Linked DNA regions of Homo sapiens: region 2 is linked to region 1. The links are contacts of gene promoters, found by promoter capture Hi-C in blood cells and fetal thymus (Javierre and others, 2016). All regions are on one chromosome and are shown on one strand. Each heading gives the region's core, a stretch centred on a gene start or on the middle of the fragment in contact. The rest is flanking DNA. Distances are from core to core; before and after follow the strand shown. Region 1 holds the start of PDHA1 (pyruvate dehydrogenase E1 subunit alpha 1). Region 2 overlaps PHKA2 (phosphorylase kinase regulatory subunit alpha 2).

Region 1 (4,165 bases), core at 166-2,665:
GCCTCAGCCTCCCAAAATGCTGGGATTACAGGCCTGAGCCACCGCACCCGGCAGTTTTGTCATTATTTTAGGCAACAGGATTCCTAGAGGGGCATACCTCTTACCTTTTGACAATCTCTGCCTGTACTAAGTAGAGCGGTATCAAGTCCTGGGGGAAATACCAGAATCCCGAGGCCTGCAGTTACACCAATTAACACGACCTCACTGTGCCTAGGGGGGTCAGAATGCTAGCTCAGGTGTTAGGCACCTCTAAATGCTGAGGCCATGAAATAGTGCTAAACTCTACCCCCCACCCCTCAAGCATCGTTGCTCTTTGCTTTAGCTACTTGTACCCTAAGAATGTGTAGGTAAGGGGAGGGGAGGGCAGCGTCCTCTGAGTTCTGCTTCGGCGCTCCTGAACTCACTGCCAAGAAAAGCTCAGATGTTGAGGGAGAGGGAAGAGGAGGAAGTTTGTTTCTGAAGAGGCTGACCTTCTGTGAACCCGCCTCAGAACTGAGCACAGGTGTTCAAGAAATGTATACCGAACTGGAGACTCAATAAATAACACTATTCAACACACATGTTATCGATTATGTGCCAGGTGCTATTTGGAATCGTTTCCACACGTGTCACTCGTTGAATCCTCAAGACAACCCCAAGAGGTGGGGACTCTTATTATCTCCATTTTAGAGTTAACTGATAACATTTCAGAGATAACTCTTATCTCCATTTAGAGATTAACTCCACTTCGAGCAAACATTTTAGGAAACCGGGTCCCCGGGACGTTTAAAAACTTGCTCAAGGTCACAGGGCTAGTCAATGGTGAGGGTGCTGTTTGAACGAAGCCACCCTGTCTCCAGATTCTACGCTATTACAAAGCCTCTCGGTCAAGAGAAATTAAGTTAGAAGATCCGAAATGAGTGGGGTCAATTGGAGACTCGAAGGAGGCCGAGGCCACCCTTTCCGTGTCCTGTAACCCAACAGGCACCTCTTGAGCACACCGACTTCGCCTGGCGCACAGCTGGGCCCGGGGGCGGGAGGTGGGTGTCGAGAAGGGGGAAGTTCACACGGACCTTGGCGTGATCCCGGTCCGTGCCGCTTCTCCCGAGGCCAGGAACGGAATGCAGGGCGCGGAGGCGAAGTAAAGGCTCCCCGGCTCCCCTGGCGCCTTCCACCCCGCTCTGGGTGGCCCGGCCTGGCCCGCCCTGCCCTCCGGCCCCGCCTCAGCCCCACTCGCGCCCCATCCCGGCCCGCCCGGGAGGTCTCACCGGCTTCTGAGAAGCGCCAGACAGCACGCGGGAGACGGCGGCGAGCATCTTCCTCATGAAGCACAGGCAGTGGCGGCAGCGGCGACTCCTCACAACCCAGGAGGCACGACGCGGGTGCCCCCAAGTCTCCTTCAGGTGCCCCAGCAGACGCCACGCCTCAGTCGCACCGCGGCGTGACAGAGTCGTAATAACGTCATGCGCTGCGCCGGGCCGCGGGCCAACCAGAACGGCGTCCAGGGGGTGCCCCGCCCCCGCTAAAGGCCTGAGGCTGCCCATTGGGTATCAGCGCCAGAGAGGGAGGGGCTGAGGGCTCTTTCCGACGCCACGCCGCGGGCGGGTGAGGAGGCGGGGCTTGATAGCGCCTGCGTGGGAAGGTGGGGCCCCCGCCTCCAGGGCGCCGCGGGAAAGGAGCCTTCCTAGATTCCGCTCTGCTGACTACCGGGGAGGTTGTGCAGGCCCCGTCCTACCGAGCGCCTACTCCTGCCGGTGCTGCAGCTCTGCAGCCCTCGTTCAGTACATCTCGTTCAGTACACTAGATGATGAAGATTAGCAGCATGCTCAGAGCCAAAAGACAGAACATCTGGTTTCTGTAAATGGTCTGCCACTAACTTTGTCTTTAAAAGATCACGTAGCAGTTGGACAGTTCTGCCCTGTCTACTTGAACGCGGATCAAAAAATTTGTTTCCCAATATATGTCGAGAGGACAATGGGAAAAATCTTTTTTCTCTAGTTATTGGTTCACAGGCTCACTGCGAGTTAACAGCGTGGCTCAGCCGATGATAAAAGCACACACAGAGACAAAACACCAAAGCAACAAGGGGCTCTATTCAGAGGATCAAAGGGCTCAGGAACCCATTGTGTTGTGTCCTAGTGGGATTGCACCTGGGGTTCCGGGTTCAGATTTGGGCTCCACATTTTAAGGGGGATAATGAGTAAACTGAGTGGAATCCAGGGGACAGTGGTCAGAACGGTGAGGGGCTGCGATTGTGACTTATGAAGAACGATTAAAGAAGTTAGGAAGAAAACAGGCTAACTAGAATTGGCTGGGTTATGATGTAACAACTGACCTCCAAATTTCAGTGATTTCAAGAATTTGAAGTGACGCGAGCCATCGTACTCGTAACACAGGTCCCTCACAGCGTGGCACCCTCTCTCTGGAACTTAGCTTGTCTCATGGATGAAGAGAAAAGGGATCATTTAAACCGGCTCTCAAAGCTTCTGCCCAGAAGTGACACATGTCACTTCCTCTCAATTTTCACGGACCAGAGCTAGTTACCCGACCATGTCTGAGTTCCACAAGGTGAAATATAATCCTCCTGCCAGGAGGAGAACAGAAAATTGGATGAACAGTAAAACCAGAGAGGATTGGATATGTCTTCACACATTTTCAGGCCAGTCATGTTCCAGGAGGAAGAGCTATTTTGTGTGTGTGTGTGTGTGTGTGTGAATAAAATCATTTCATTTCAGCATAACAATGAATTTTCTAACAATGACAATGGTCCAATGAGATAATTCTCTCCCAGTGTCACTGAAAGTATTCAAAGCAGAAGTTCAAAGCATGACCAGCTCTCAGCATAGCTAGAGAAATAATTTGGGCACTGGGCCAGACTCTGGACTGAGAGATCGTGTTGCAGTGGAAGAAAACTTCTTAAAGGAGTGAGAGGGCGCCATTAAAAGGCAGAGATGGACGTGAGAAACTTGCATGGTATGATTTCAGCAGCTGCTGCTGCTGATAGAATATGAAAGGTAAAAGAGAATGAAAAGGTTGGAGGCCAGATGTCCAGCTCAGGAGAAAAAGCTGGTCTGAATGGTTTGGGACATGTTGACCTGGTGGTGGCAGTGGCACAGCTATCTGAAGATGTCCCCCGGGAAGTTGGAGTTGTAAGTCTGGAACATTTGCTAAAAATATTAATTTGGGAGTCATCTCCACGGGGTGGTGATATTGGTTGTGCATGTACGGGAACTCTGTAGGCCATATGAATATGAATTCATTCATTCATTTGCTCATTCATCCAACACCTATTATTGAGCACCGATTTTGTGTCAGACACTGTACTACACACTGAAGATATAGCAAGGAACAAGTAAAATATAGGTCCTACTTAAATACATGATTGAACAAATCAATGGGTTAGAAGGAACAACTTTTCCTTACAGTAGAATTCCAATTAATTAATATAGAAGGAATGATGAAAATAGAAAAAGAAAATCACCATTTGGCAAAGACCACAGTAACTGTTGCAGGTGAGAATTATCATCAATACAGGCTAAAATTAGTGGGTAAATGTATGATGAGAAACAGGACATTTGCCTCATCTCAAATGATCTCTCCACTAGATTCATTACAAAGTTTAAAGTAACTTTGCAGTGCAGAAACAAAGTAACCAATTTTTCAATGACTAGGATATTTTCTCTGCACTTCTTGTTCTTCATATATATACATATATATACACACATACGTGTATATATATATATTTTATTTATTTATTTTTTTGAGACAGAGTCTCGCTCTGTCGCCCAGGCTGGAGTGTAGTGGTGCAATTTCAACTCACTGCAAGCTCCGCCTCCCAGGTTCACGCCATTCTCCTGCCTCAGCCTCCCGAGTAGCTGGGACTACAGGTGCCCGCCACCACGCCCGGTTAATTTTTTTTGTATTTTTCGTAGAGACAGGGTTTCACCATGTTAGACAGTATGGTCTTGATCTCCTGACCTCGTGATCCGCCCGTCTCAGCCTCCCAAAGTGCTGGGATTATAGGCATGAGACACTGCGCCCGGCCTCTTTTTTTTTTTTTTTTTTTTGAGACAGATTCTCACTCTGTTGCCCAGGATGGAGTACAGTGGTGACATCTTGGCTCACTGCAACATCTGACTCCCAGGTTCAAGTGATACTCCTCATTCAGCCTCCCGAGTAGCTGGGA
Region 2 (3,927 bases), core at 808-3,307, 430 kb after region 1:
CCTGTCTCAAAAAAAAAAAAAAAAGACATTTTTTTGCAGATTTTTGAAAGTATGACTTATTGTCTTCTTGCTATCAGTGTGTTGGTGTTGCTGTTGAGAAATCTAAACCTGGGCAGGCACAGTGGCTCATGCCTATAATCTGAGCAATCTGGGAAACTGAGGCAGGAAGATCGCTTGAGTCCAGGAATTTGAGACCAGCCTGGGCAAGATAGTGAGGCCCTGTCTCTACAAAAAATAGAAAAAATAGCCAGGCATGGTGGCACATGCCTGTAGTCCCAGCTACTTGGGAGTCTGAGGCAGGAGGATCACTTGAGCTCAGGGAGGTTGAGGTTGCAGTGAGCTGTGATCACACCACTGCACTCCAGCCTGAGTAACAGAACGAGAACCTGTCTCAAAAAAAAAAAAAAATGTATTAGCCCATTCTTGCATTGCCATAAAGAAATACCTGAGACTGGGTAATTTATAAAGAAAAGAGGTCTAATTGGCTCAGGGTTCTGCCGGCTGTACAGGAAGCATGATGCTGGCATCTACTTGGCTTCTAGGGAGGCCTCAGGAAGCTTCCAGTCATGACGGAAGACAAAAGGGGAGCAGACACTTCACATGGCGACAGTAGGAACAAGAGAGAGTGGTCACACACTTTTGAACAACCAGATCTCATATCCCTTGTGAACTCAGAGTGAGAGCTCACTTATCACCAAGGGGATGGCCCAAGCCATTCATGAGGGACCCACCCCCATGATCCAAACACCTCCCACCAGGCCCCACCTCCAACACTGGGGATTACATTTCAACATGAGATTTGAGTGAGACATTCAAACCATATCAGAAATTAAACCCATTCTGATTGTTTGAGACAAGAGTATCACTCTGTCGCCCAGGCCAGAGTGCAGTGGCTCGATCTCAGCTCACTGCAACCTCCGCCTCCTGGGTTCAAGCGAGCCTCCTGGGTTCAAGCGATTCTCCTGCCTCAGCCTCCCAAGTAGCGGGGATTACAGGCACCCACCATCACATCCGGCTAATTTTTGTATTTTTAGTAGAGACAGGGTTTCACCGTGTTGGCCAGGCTGGTCTTGAACTTCTGACCTCAGGCAATCTGCCCTCTTGGGCCTCCCAAAGTGCTGGGATTACAGGCGTGAGCCACCGTGCCCGGCTCATTCTGATTTTTGATACTTCAAATATGAGCTGTTTTTCTCTTTGAAAGTGTTTAGGATCTTCTCTGCTCCCGGCTTCTGACATCTCAGTGCTGCACCTTAATCTCTATCTGGGTGTGTTTTCATCCATTGTGTTGGATACACACTGGGCCTTTCCAATCTGGAAATTTGTTTTTCAGTCCTGTAAAGTTTTCCTAAAAAGTTTCTTGACTCATTTCCTGCCCAACATTTTCTCTGTTCTTTCTTTCTGGTGTTCCTATGATTCCAAAGTTGACTTCCTAGAGAAGACTTTATCATTTTTTTCCCTCTGTTTTCCATTTTTCTGTCTTGTCCTGAAAGCCATTGTCTCAACTTTTTGTTCCATCCCCTCAATTTAGCCACTTTTGCTATCATGTTTTAAATCTTTGTTCCCCAAATTGTGTCTGTTTTTGTTTCACGTTTACAATATAATTTCTTGGCCAGACGCAGTGGCTGATGCCTATAATCCCAGCACATTGGGAGGCCAAGACAGGCGGATTCCTTGAACCCAAGAATTCTGGACCAGCCTGGGCAACGTAGCAAGACACTGTCTGTACAAAAAAAAAAAAAAAAAAGATTAGCCAGGCGTGGTGGTGCATGTCTGTGATCCCAGGTACTTGGGAGGCTGAGGTGGGAGGATCGCATGAGTCCGGGAGGTTGAGGCTGCAGTGAGCCATGATCATGCCACTGCACTCCAGCCTGGGTGACAGAGCGAGACCCTGTCTCAAAAAAATAGTAAAAATACAGTATAATTTCTTTTTCTGAAAGAGAGAAAGAAAAGGTCCTGCTCTGTCACCCAGGCTGAAGTGCAGTGGCATGATCATGGCTCACTGCAGCCTTCACCTCCCAGGCCCAAGCGATCCCCCTACCTCAACCTCCCAAGTAGCTGGGACCACAGGTGCATGCCACCACACCCAGCTAATTTTTATTTTTATTTCTGTGGAGACAGGGTTTCACCATGTTGCCCAGGCTGGTCTCAAACTCCTGACCTCAAACGATCTGCCTGCCGTGGCTTCCCAAAGTGCTGGGATTACAGGCATGAGCCACCATACCTGGCAATTTGTTATTATTCTAAGAATATTAATGGCAGGGCTTTTTGTTTTGGTTTGTATATACCCTTTTTACTCTTTGAATGGTTTCCATTCCCCCAAGTCACCTTTTCCGGTTTGCTTAGGTTTCTGTCTTCCACATGAGCGTCCTCCTTCAAATGCCCTGCTCCTCCTCGCTTACCTGGTCATGCATGAGAATCTCCAAGCCCATGGGTGGGGCTTGTTGACTCGGAGTTATTTGATTTCCCAGAGATACTCTACAATCTCCTAGTGGATTTCCTATTTCAAGGATTAGGGCCTGGTTGCCTGGAGCTATATAGTTACTTATAATTCCCTTAAGGAATGTATCTACGCCTTCAGATGTGCTAATCAGCAGCCCCTCTCTCTTCGAGCCCCTTCCTCCTTTACCCTCTTCTGAGAGACCCTCCAGTCTTCTGTCAGAGTGAGTGAGGTGGTCATCAAGCTGGGTGTAGTTGAAGCGGATGTCCAGGGAGCTCACTGCTTCTCAGATAGCTTCTCCCCAGCCTTCCTTGTTTTGGACACCCCTTCTAGGCCCCAGTTCCAGAAGCACATAGTGCAGCAGGCCCCAGGGACTTCTGATGAGCCTTGGGTGTAACTGACCAGCTCTCGGATTTCTCCACTGCAGACTTGGGAATTGGTTGCCTTGTGTCAGCTAAATCACTTATCTTTCATCTGTCAGCTTTCCCGCTTCTGAAATTCTGTTCCTGTCGTCTTCTTTCTTGTTTTTCTTCATTCTCAAGGATTTGTCTTTTAAAAAAAAATATATACAGTTATGCACCACATAACTTTTTGGTCAATGGCAGACCGCATATATGGCGGTGGTCCCCTAAGATTATAATGGAGCTGAAACCTTTCTGTCACCTAGTGACATCGTAGCTGTAGTGACTTTGTAGCACCATGCACTGCTCACATGTTTGTGGCGATGCCAGTATCAGTAAACCTCCTGCGCTGCCAGTCGTGTACAGGTCTAGCACATACAATTATGTATAGTACATAATACTTGATAATACATAAGTATGTTGCTGGTTTGCGTATTTAGAGTGTACTCCTTTTACTTATTAAAAAACGTTAACTGTGAAACAGCCGCAGACCAGTTCTTCAAGAGGGATTACAGGAGAAAGCATTGTTATCTTAGGAGATGACAGCTCCATGTACATTACTGCCCCTGAAGACCTTCCAGTGGGACAAGCTGTGGAGGTGGAAGCAGTGATGGATGATCCTGGCCCTGCATAGGCCTAATGTGTGTGTTTGTGTTTTCATTTTTTAAAAAAAGTTTAAAAAGTAAAATAAATAAAACTAAAAAATAGATCAAAGCTTATAGAATAAGGACGTAAAGAAAATATTTTTGTGGGCCGGCTGTGGTGGCTCATGCCTGTAATCCCAGCACTTTAGGAGGCCCAGGTGGGTGGGTCAGGAGTTCAAGACCAGCCTGGCTAACATGGTGAAACCCTGTCTCTACTAAAAATACAAAAATTAGCTGGGCGTGGAGGCACACACCTGTAATCCCAGCTACTCGGGAGGCTGAGGTGGGAGAGTCGCTTGAACCAGGGAGGTGGAGGTTGCAGTGAGCCGAGATCGCACCACTGCAGTCCAGCCTGGGCAACAAGGCGAGACTCCATCTCAAAAAAAAAAAAGAAAGAAAATATTTTTGTACAGCTGTACGATCTGTGTTTTAAGCTGTTATTACA

The links. The method cuts DNA at HindIII sites, captures the fragments that hold promoters and counts their contacts. A CHiCAGO score of 5 or more calls a contact.
Region 2: a contact is called between a fragment that was not itself captured here and the fragment with the promoter of PDHA1 in region 1, in 4 of 17 cell types (M0 macrophages, megakaryocytes, M2 macrophages and 1 more). The highest score is 5.6, in M0 macrophages.

What each region holds. Positions count from the first base shown.
Region 1 is chrX:19,341,177-19,345,341 of GRCh38, reverse strand. PDHA1 (pyruvate dehydrogenase E1 subunit alpha 1) reads right to left here and starts at 1,415. Exons shown (of 11, transcript NM_000284.4): 1 at 1,248-1,415. The coding sequence starts at 1,304. The HindIII fragment of the contact is 3,035 bases long and covers 1-2,464 here.
Region 2 is chrX:18,913,358-18,917,284 of GRCh38, reverse strand. All of the region lies in intron 19 of PHKA2 (phosphorylase kinase regulatory subunit alpha 2), which reads left to right. It also overlaps the pseudogene RN7SL48P. Among named protein-coding and RNA genes, the nearest start is that of PHKA2-AS1, 25 kb to the right of the region's middle. The HindIII fragment of the contact is 2,996 bases long and covers 560-3,555 here.